Linked DNA regions of Homo sapiens: region 1 is linked to region 2. Evidence: promoter capture Hi-C in human tissues and cell types (Jung and others, 2019). All regions are on one chromosome and are shown on one strand. Each heading gives the region's core, a stretch centred on a gene start or on the middle of the fragment in contact. The rest is flanking DNA. Distances are from core to core; before and after follow the strand shown.

Evidence for each region. Contacts are between HindIII fragments. The study calls those that stand out against the background at their distance.
Region 1: a fragment that was not itself captured here is called in contact with the fragment with the promoter of SH2D4B in region 2 in 1 of the 25 tissues and cell types used here (dorsolateral prefrontal cortex).

The regions. Positions count from the first base shown.
Region 1 is chr10:81,883,076-81,888,902 of GRCh38, forward strand. The region is part of intron 1 of NRG3 (neuregulin 3); the gene reads left to right. Among named protein-coding and RNA genes, the nearest start is that of NRG3, 11 kb to the left of the region's middle. The HindIII fragment of the contact is 4,089 bases long and covers 1,221-5,309 here.
Region 2 is chr10:80,536,502-80,541,976 of GRCh38, forward strand. SH2D4B (SH2 domain containing 4B) reads left to right here and starts at 1,401. Exons shown (of 8, transcript NM_001388272.1): 1 at 1,401-2,014. The coding sequence starts at 1,831. RefSeq lists enhancers at 3,105-3,244, 4,282-4,461, 4,612-4,671, 4,842-4,961. The HindIII fragment of the contact is 9,237 bases long and covers 1-5,475 here.

The DNA of each region.
Region 1 (5,827 bases), core at 2,015-4,514, 1.3 Mb after region 2:
ACACTAATTGTCATTGGGTCTTTAGATTTTGGAGAGAATTTGTGTGAAAATAGGCATGTCTGCACTGCATTCCCTTGGCCACTTAGCAGTTACTGTGAATTAGATTCTCAAGAATTAATAGGTTGATTGTATCCATCAAGGAGCTCTTTTAAAGATACTGTTTGGATTTGTACTTTGGGGAACTTTAATATTAGCATTTTGGAAATATATTTCTTCAAATCTGTGTTTGTTGGAAATCTCATCCTGAATTATATCTTAAAGTATTACTTTTTGTTGTTATAAGCTTTTATTTCTCAAGACAGGTTGGTGATTGTACATAAATCATAGATTGCCATTCCTGGGCCTAAAAAGGGATCAGTCAGAAGCAAACCTACAAACTGAATTCAGAATTAAGTTTAATAATGGAAGTTTAGCAGCTTCCAGTGCTAAGATTTTGTCTTTGAGGCCTTTTCCTGGAAGTGATAGTGTGTATCATGGATGCAATATAGGCCATACGAACATTTTTTTAAAGAAAAGGTCAGCTGAATCCATGCAACTACTTTAGCATTAGTATGTTACAGCCAGGGTTATGGGAATAGAATTTTTATGCTAAACGTTTGATAAGAATTCTTAAATATATCAGCCTTCCTCCTCAGATACCTTCCTATGACTACATGCAACCTCTGGCATGATTTCCTGTGAATTGCCAGGGAGCTAGAAATCCACTAAAAGAGAAAGCCACACCCTCATCATCATCAGATTTTCTTCATTTTTGTAGCTTGAATTTTACTTTTAGTAATGTAGAAGGATTAGTCACAGATAATCAGTCTTGGAAGGGGCTTAAGAATTTAAGTAATAATAAAAACGACAGCTGCCATATGTGGAGGGTTACCGTGTGCCTGGGCATGTAGCACTGTACATTCTTCGTGTTATTTATTTTTGAAATAAGGATTGAAAAACAATCATATCTAGGCCTGCAGCCTAGGTTTGATTATCTCACTGATAGAGTTAATCAAGCTGGGCTTAGGATATATAATTTGCCTAGGACTTGCAGAAATTGTTTGGATAATCAAGAAGACTGGAGGAGTGTTTTACAGGTAATCTCTCCCCACCTCAGTCTTACTTACCTAATTCACTGTTATAGTGTCACTATATCCATTTGTACATTGCTTCTGTCAAGCACTTCACACACAGATAGTGGCATTTGCCACTGTAAACTCCATAAATAGCTCACCTGCACTGTACCTGTTCTTTGCTCTGATATGGAGGAATCTAACTAGAGAAATTGCCTGGGTTTTCTGTCTAAGGAGAAATTCAGATGTTTCGGTAAAAGATAAAGAATATGTTGTTCTGAATGTTGTCTTCTTGTTTATTTTTTAAGTTTTGTTGATATGTAATTGATATGCAATGTGCTCTCCATACACATCCTTGGGTTCTGCATCTGTGGATTTAAGCAACCAGGGATCAAAAATATATTTAAAAATAAAAACAACAACACAACAATTAAAAATACAAATAAGAAACAAGTATAGTATAACAACTATTTACATAGCATTTACACTGCTTGTAAGTTCTCTAGTGATGACTGAAACTATATGGGAGGCTATCCTTAGGTTATATGCAAATACCAGGCCATTTTATGTAAAAGACATGGGCATCCTAGGATTTTGATATCCTGGGGGAGAGGAATCCTGGAACTATTCCCCCCTGGAATACCAAAGGATGACTGTACAAAAAATTGTACATATTTAATGTGTACATATCGATGAGTTTGGACATGCATATACCTATTAATGCTGTCACCACAGTCAGGGTACTAAACATATCCATCACCTCCAAAAATTTCCTTGTGTTCTCTTGTGGTTTTAATTTTGTTTAGGTAGAACATTTAACATGAAATCTATCTTCTTTTTTAAGTATGCAGTATTATATTGTTAACTAAGTACTATGTTGTACAACGGATCTCTAGAACTTATTCCTCTTGCATAACTAAATCTTTGTACCCATTGAGCAACAGTTCCCTACCTCTAAACTTCTGTTCCTTGATCTTTTTAACTCTCTATTTTCTCTTATGGCTGCTTGTAGGTGATTCAATGTAACAATGACAGAAAACAGTTACAGACTTTATTCCTCTGCTTCCTAAAATCCAGTCAAAATTGCCTTCTCTGCCCATTCCAAGCTTACTTTTGGTTACAATAGTGACTGCAGTGTATGCTGAGACTGATCAATGGAAAAGTGTCAGGGAACATTTGGAATGATAGCCTTTTAGTTCTGTAGACACTAAAGTACTGACTCTACCAAATCAATGATGGGAGTTGGAGCTGCATGCAATGCCTGCTGCAGAACATCTGAATTCCATCTTGGAGCCACACTGCGAAGTACCCATCACTGATTATCTACCAGTTCTAAGAAGGGGAACATTGGTGAGACCTTGATATTCTGCCGGGGGTACTACAAACTAGACCCAATCATTGCTTACTTGCTTGACATTTTTGTTTGCCAAGTGTTCTTTTAGCTAGAAGAAAAAAATTCTCTTTTGGTTAAAGTAAAAGATAGTTGAGATTGTTACTTTTACAAACTTATAAAAATAAAATGGAAATAGATCAAGTTCTAAGATCACGTGACACTCATTTGAATAGCCATGCTGAAGGATAGGAATACTGTAGTGTCAGAAAGATTGTATTGTCAACATCCTGTAAGACTGTAAATGAATCCCATAAACTAACAATGACAGTTGTGCTCATTGTTAGTCTATGAGGGGGGCCACTGGGGTTGTTTGCCCAAATTTATTGTTAGACCAAAGCTTTTTTCAGCATGGTGGAAAAATCTAGAGACACCAGAATTTTTTAAAAAATGGGCTGTAGAAATGTTTATATTAAATGATAGCTTGACTGAATTCTATTTCATTGACTTTTCAGTATGATACTCTCTGTTTCTGGATTAAAAAACTAACACATTTCGGGTGTGGGGGAGGTAGAGCATCAGGATAAATAGCTAATGCACGCGGGGCTTAATACATAGGTGATGGGTTGATAGGTGCAGCAAACCACCATGGCACACGTTTACCTATGTAACAAATCTGTACGTCCTGCACATGTATCCCAGAACTTAAATAAAATTAAAAAACAAAAACAAAAACTTCTGACAAATGCCCACTCCATGCCGAGCAGGTACAGTTGGTAGCACTTCTGTCTTAACCAAATGAAAGCTGCCTTGGTTAACAGGTATTAGTTATATTAGCTCCCAAACCTGTTTATGCTGATTGTTTTTGTTACTGTAATTGGGTAATGCATTTAAGTATTCTATAAATCTGTGAATTGTGGTTTCTATTAAAACGAAGTTCATTACATTGGATATAATCCATAAACATAAGTCACTTTAAAAAAAGTGCTTCTTCTACTTGACAAAGTTGTGAGAAGTTTAACGAGAATATATTTATATATCCATAAGAAATTTGCACTTGTATTGTTTCACATGTTAAGATTTTATTCCACAATAAACTAAACTGGAAAAATCACATTATACATTATGGGTATGGTTTTTCATAAGAAGGACAACAGATGTTTACTCAGAGAAAAGCCTTGAGCTCTATAACCAAATATTTGGCAAGTGAATGTGCATTTGTATGTTTTAAGTTAAAATAATAAGTAAAATAAATTTTGTTTACCCATGTGATAGATATTACAAAGCTATTAAATTTTGTTGTACTAATTTTAAAGCTTTCGGGAAATGTTTGGTATATAATTTTTATCTAAAACTTTGGGTAGAAAATTATATAAGATATCCATGATATTAAGCTTTACTGGTCACTAGATTTAATATATAGTAACTGTATTCAAAGGAAGTATACCAAATTGTTCATGGTAGTTCTTTCTGGATTTTGGAATAGGGATGCTGTTTAATTTATTGTACTTTTTTGTATTATCTAAGTTTTAGTTATTGTTCATGAATTATCTTTTTTTCTAATTAGAAGTTGTTATACTTTTGAAAAATGTAAAGAATATACTCCATGAATCAGTTCAATTATTGGTCTTGGTTCTGTGAAGATTGTTTTTTCTTTATGTCTAAAGAGTTTGTTTCTTAATTGGTGGTGTCAGCATTAAAATGTTGATGGAGTTGGGTTGCTGCTGTGAAATGCAGATGTGTAGAAGTGCAAATGCATTTCCATTTGCTCATGGGAAATAATGCCTTATTGAAGGCAGAGTTTCTTACTCTGGGCCTTTGATGATTAGCCTTGACTTTATAAGGGTATAGAAGATGGGAGTTTAATGAGATACTTAATGGCTCTTCCAGTCTGCAGATGTTAGACAGTCTTAGTAGTATTGCTATACAAGGATATAGCCAACAGAAATCAATAAGTTATATACACATATTAATCAACTATCTGATCTATTCCAAGGATCAAATGAAAAGAGAACACAAAGGCTAATTGACAGTGCTGAGTACTAGAAAGGAGATGTTTGGTCAAACATGAATGGGTGGGATAACCAGTTCAAAGGTTTACTGGATGCTATAAGCCTCTCCCAGAATCATAAGATATTTATTCTTATATTAATTTTCAGTGGCTGGAACATAGACAGACTCCAGAGTCCATAGGAGAGTGGTGATTTGTAGGGCACATGACCCATAAGTTTGGTGATGAGTTGTGCTCAAAGTCCTTCAAATAGTTCACAAATGCAATGTTGGTCCAAAAGAGCCAGAACAAATATATGATTCTATTTATATACTGTGTAACAATTAGAAGTCAAGATGGTGATTATCTTTGGGGAGGAGGGGCAGGTAGTGAATGGAAGGGGACCCAGGTGTAGGTTTTCCTGTATTGATAATATTGTGCTGCTTGATATGGGTGCTGGTTACATGAGTGAGTTCACTTCATCAAAATTTAGTAACTTCTATACTTTTGATTTGTGCACTTTTTGTATACATCAATACTAACTTGAAAAAATAAGAGAAAACTTCAGGAACATTCCTTTGGCCTTTACCACTTCATGCAACCAGGGTGGTGGCCTGAGTTTATAGGTTTTTCCATGTACAGAGACTGGATGGTAGCTCTGAAAGTTTGTTGTTGGTGTCTCACAGTCCAGCAGATGCAAAGAGGGTCTTCCTGGCTTCAGCATTTTCCTTTGTTCTCAGGATCCCCTCTTAGTGAGACTTCATGCAAACACCCACATTCCCTTTTGACGTAAGCCTTTCTGAGTGGACACCTTGTATTTATATTCAATAAAACCCTATTTCACTCATATCAGGAGTGTTCCTGATATAACACATTGCGACACTTTTCACATATCTTAACACATGTAAAACCCCACTTGTATCCTGAGAATGGCATTATTACAGTTCTGCAAACATTAAAGTGTGATATACACAAGAAAGATAATTCATCATCTGCATCTGTGGTTTTTGTTGAGAAGATCAGAAGATATGCACCAAAGAATCATTAAGTGCTGAAATGTGTGATTCCAAATGAAAAGCATATGAGGCCATTTCAGAAAGTAGTGCTTAGAGGGAGAAAGGTAGTTTCAAGGGAGAATTTCCTTAGGCAGAGTAATAGAGAAGGGAGGCCCAGGGAGGGAAAGGTCATTAATAAAGGTAGAAGTTTGCATGTACCCACCTATATGGGAGCCAGTGAGGGTTCTGACCTGGTAGACAGACGGCCTCACCTTTTCCTTGGAGCAGCGCCTGATTAAGGAGGGAGGGTTTTGGAGGACACAGCTTGATTCTATGTTAAGCCACAGTCAGAATGGGTTGCAAGGAAGTGATACAATATCTGTGGTATTTTCAGAAGGTGCGAGGTTTCCAGGATGACTTGGAGAGAGGAATGAGCAGCGAATTTTAAAGATTCTCTAAG
Region 2 (5,475 bases), core at 151-2,650:
CTTTGGACTCGGGGGTCTCCCACCAGCCACGGCGAGGGGGAGAAAGAGAATAGCTGGGCAGAGGCTAGGGAAGACCCCCGGTCTCAGAAACTGAGGGGAGCCAGGACTCCCGGTGGGGGAGTCGGTGCAAGCCCTGAGGTGGGTGGATGGGAGTCCAGGGCCACAGCTCTGCAGCGGACAGGCGAGTCCTGTGGCGGCTCTAGGAAGGTCTGGGCACACTGGGACCAGCTAGCTGGACCTGGGTGGGGAGGGGTGGGGCGTCTGACTCCACTCCTGTGACCTGGACATTGCCTAGCTGAGCAGGAGCTTTGACCCTATGGGCTTACAGCTCATCTGAATCTGCTTAGTCCATCTTCCTGTTGTGTTAACCTTGCAGAGGGGGAAGAATGCCAACTCTCCACCCCTCTTCCATCACTCTTGGGTACCTGATCCACCTTCCACCCTCATGGGCAAGGAAGGGGACAGGAAGGTCACCAATCCAACCAAGCCACAGTGCCAAATCCTGTTGGTTCGTTTGTTTTCCCTTGGTTGGGTTATGTTTTCAAACCATCAACAGATTCATAGTTGCTAGTGGATGTCAAATTTCAAAACGGGGGAGTCCCAATACAGTGACTTGTCCATTAGGAAGCCATAGGCAAGCCACTTACTTTCTCTGAGCTTCAATATCCTTGTCCCAATAAGAAGGCATCTGTGATTTGCTCTGAGCACATATTTAGGGTGAGCTTTCACCCTAAAGATCTCAGCAACGGCAGCTTCTACCCACCTTCACACACCAAAGAGAGGGTGGCTTCCCTCCCAGCAGAAGGCAACATCCCGCCATTCCAGTGTGCTTCTGATCAGGGCACAGAGAAGAGCCAGTTTCATCTTCTTTCTTTTTGGTCAACTCCAGGCATCTGCAACAAACAAGATTAACAACGACCATTAAAACTGGCCCCTGGAGGGTTTATCTGTCAGCCACGCATGGCTGCAGGATCTCATTATATATAGGCCAAAGGGAAAGGATGTCTGCTTCCTTTCTGTCCTGGAATTCCAAGATAAAATCCCCTCCAGTTGTCTCTACTGATTCCATTTTGTTTTCTTTCTTGGCTGTAACACAGATAGGAGGAAAAATCTTTCCTCCCCCAAGGCAGAGTTTTAAACGCATCATCTCAGAATGCCAAATGTTCTGGAAAGGAAGAAAGTTGGCAGCGAAGGAACCCGCAGAGAGAGGGGCTGAGAGGGCTGAGGGGCCCAGCAGCTTCTGGCAGGCTCCTCTGGTCTGTGTTTGAAATTGGCTGAAAAGACATGGAATTTAGTAGGCAAGTCTGCCTCCTTCTCCTCCTCTTATCTGCAGAGGAGAGATCAGTTCCCAGCTGGCCGGGGCAGTGTCATTGATATAGCTGGTGTCATTGTTACCTTCCACTAACAGATCACTCGACACCTACCAGCCCAGGCAGGGCTGGGACTGGGCATTTCCTGGCTGAGCTGGAGGCTTGGGCCCTTCCCATTGTCTCAGAACCCCAGGTGATGCCAAGACATGGGCTCTCCTGGGATGCCGTGCTTGGTGACCCAGGAGAAGGACTAGATTGCTCCTGGTGGTTGCTCCCCCTTGCAGAGTCCCACCTGCCCCTTTGGGTCCTGTTGCCTGGCCTCTTTTGCTGTCCTGGGTAGAGGAGATGAGTTCGTCGCTGGCTGCAAGCTGAGGCCAACTGACAATGCTGCACAGAGAAGGGGCACCGAGAGTGGCCCCGGATTGAGCAGTCCGTAGTGCAGAGCAGCCCCTCGGGCGTTCTGCCTGGCCCTGCTTCCCCTGCTGGCTGCCCTTCTGGTGCGTGCATCCCAGGTGGCATCATGCTGCAGCAGATCCTGCACGACATGTACATCGACCCCGAGCTCCTTGCCGAGCTCAGCGATGTGCAGAAGCACATCCTCTTCTACAAAATGCGGGAGGAGCAGCTGAGGCGCTGGAAGGAGCGGGAGACTTGGGAGGCCCTGGCCCAGGACGAGGGTCTCAGGCCTCCAAAGACCAAGCGAGGTACGTGGCTGGGAGTCACAGAGAGGTAGGCCACCAGTCCCCCAGGAGGTAGAAAAATTAGCAGGGCCAGGCTGTGCCCTTCTTCAAGATGGGCACTGGGGTGATGAGGGCTGGGGGCTTGAAACCCTTGTCTTGTGGGCATCAGGTCCCATGAGCCTGTGCTTTTGCCTTTTGGCCAGGACCTTAGGGCTTCGAGGCTGCTGCAGAGGCTGTCCAGCGGCCCTTATTGGAGTCGGGGAGTTGGGACTTGCTTTGTCTTGTTGTGGAAGGCCCGAGTTCTGGGAAGACACCATTGAGACTTCAGATTGTGCTCCGACGTGGTTGGCAATGGTAGGGTGAACGACGGCATATTTGTGACCCTTGCCATTGGTTCTGGGCCAGAGTGTGGTGTAGATATGCAGTTCCTTTCTCCTTGGCATGCGTGGCACACCAGTTCTTGGCTAGGGCCCCTTCTGTGGACTGTGCCTCTCCCTCCAGATCCTCCGGCAGGAGGATGCTGTGGGTTGTCTCTGGAGCCCCACTGGGCATCCGGAGAGAGGGCATCAGGGAACGTCCCACACAATGAATGACCATCCCCAAATGGTCGTAGCAACTGCAGATGAGAAGCAAGGGCCTAGCCTACATTTCAGGTGTTTTGTATGCAAAGTCATGTGCCAGTCAATCCTATGGACTGGTACACCTGTGGGTGAAGGAAATCATCCAGGACCCCTGGGCCAGAAACTGGCAGGCTGCTGAGGCTTGGCTTGGCACAGGACTCAATCCTGCCAGGGATTGTAGTTTCTGTGGATGCTGCATGCACTTTACAGTTTGCAAGGCTTATGTGCCTTCACCCTTTGAAGTTTTCAATCCAGAACAAAGTCCTGTTTCAGGGCTGAGCACACAGCTCCCTTGGTGATCTGGCTCTTCTCCATGCCAGGCTCACTGCTGGCCAGTCCCCACCAGGTGCCACAGGCCACACCCACATCATCTGGACATGCTTGCTCTTGTCTCTGGTCTTCACATGAGTGGCTCTCACCGTTGGGAATGTCCTTCTGCCTTCATCCACCTGACAGACTCCATCAGGAGTGGCCCCCCTGCCCTGGAGTGTTCAGGGATGCTCTTGCATAGGGCAGTACTTGCTCCTCTGTGGCTGCCTGGCATGTAGGACCCACGCCTGCCCTGGCATTTGCCACCCTGTCATTGTCATTCCTCATCTGCTTGCCTGGCTCTCCGATGGGCTCAAAGGCACTGGTGTGTGAGGGCTTCCTCCACTCTATCTTCCTCCCCTGGGCCCAGCACAGAGGTGGCACATGGTGTTAAATCCTTGTTTTGAACAAGACACAGCAGGACCCTGCCGGGGAGGTTGGGGCAGAGCTGTGACTTGGCTGCAGGTGGCTGCTGCCAAAGCTGGGGCCTTCCGGGCTGGGCTGCGCTGGCAGCTGCATCACTAACTGGTGAAATGACAAGCCACCTTGCCAGCACCACCCGGCCTGAGCCCTGGGGACTCATGATGCCTGCATGATGACTCTTCTTGGAGGGAGACAGATGCCTAAAAATTTAACTGCAAAAATATTTATACAGAGATTTGTCACACATAGACATCTACATTTTCATGTATAAATTATACATTAAACTCATTTGAGTTTCTGGTGCAGAAGATCCTTTTTCTGGTAATTAATTTTCTGATTTATAAAGAATGGAAAAGCAGGAAAGCACGCCGAGGAATGTGTGTATCCCAGGTCAGGATCCCGCTTGGATCCTGGCTCTTTGCTTCGGTCCTGCCTTTTGGAACTGTCTGGGCATGCCACTGGGGAGCCTGGGGGCTGGCCCTGCCCAGGAGCCGGAAGAGCTTTCGGCCGGAGGGTCCAGGATATACAGTATCTGCTTCATGTCCTGGGGTCGTGATGAAGGGTGGCAACAACTTGTGAGCTTTACGTTGACTGGGTGCCTACCCAGCCCTTGCTGCTCCCGTGTCCCTGCGGGGTGGCAGGGCAAGCTCCCTGATTTCATTGCAGATAAGGAAGGTGAGGCTCAGAGAAGTGATGCGCTACATCCAAGGTCATCCAGCTGCTACATCTCATGACTTGGATCTGGGGTCTGGTGACTGATTTTTTTTCTGTTCATTCACTTCCAAACTCGGAACTCCAATTAAACAAGTGAGCTGTGCACACATTCACTTGTTCACTCATTCACCAATTCATTCACTTATCCAGCATTACTATGTGCTGATTTCAGTGAATGGGGCAGTGCTTGTCCTGGAGACGGTGGGTAGATGGATCATAGGGAACACAGCCAACTCGAGTGCCAAGGGTGAGGCTTGGTTCAAAGCAGCCGTGCCGTGTCCCAGGGCGGGAATTGTGCGGGGACGGGCTCCACGGAGGAATCTTCTCTTCCTTCCCTTGATGTTGCCAGAGGACTCAGGAGGCTCTCCAGATGCTGGTGAGACCCCAGCCCCAGTTGATGTCCAGGCTCTTGAAACTGTCTTGAGAAAGAACTCGGGAATGAGTCAGAATGATAGGAAAGGCAAGAAACTGTTAGTGAGAAGCGAAAGTACACACTTGAGAGAGAAGTGCGGGCGTGCTCATGAGAACGTGTCACACCCAGCAGAGTCTGGGTTTCTAATTTTATGGGTGTTTCTTTAATTAGGGGATGGAACAATTATTAGGTGTTCTGGAAGAGGAGGAGATTTCAGGGAACCCCCTGGGTTACTGTCTCCTTTCTCCCTTCTTTGGGTTTGCCCAGAAGAGCCATGGACAAGTCACCCTGAGTGGGATTTCAGCTGTTTTTACTCTCTTCCTTTGGGTTTTCTGTTATCTTGTTGTTTCTTTGTCTTGTTCTTGTTTTAGCTGTTGTTTGGGTTTTTCCATGCTCCTGTGACCACCCAGTGCTATTCTTGTCTCATTGACAGGCATCCTCTTTCCTGGTCCCCTCCCTACACATTTTTTTTCTGAAGGAAGCACCTGCTGTAGCCCTGCTGAGCTGTTTGCTGGCCCCTTGGGATCCCTGAGCATGACGTGGGTTAGTCCTGGTCAGCCTAGAGTGACACTGGGCCTCCTCCGGGCCATCGTCCCCAGTGCTCTAAAGCCTTCCCTCTCCCCTCTTTTCTGGGAACATTCCTCGCTCCTGGCAAGCCTGGCTTTGCCATCCCTTGGGCTCAAGTAACACTCCCCATGTCCCTACAGACAGGCAGGCAGGACAAGGTGTGCCTTGTGCCTGAGAACCTCACAGCCCCGGAGTTGTGCCTGGTGAGGGTGCGAGTAAACACTGGTGATGTGAATCATTCTCGTTTACAGAACCTAGGAGGTTTTCTTGATTCTGAGATCCACATTTGGAACCCACAGAAGTAAGCTTGGGTGAAAGCTTAGAGGCGGACTGTGAAAGGTAGGAAGGAGAGGAGATGAGGGCACGGCTGGACACATCACTCCTCTGAGCACATGGCATTTCTTTTCTGTTTTCACTTTACGCTTTGGCAAGAACCCTCT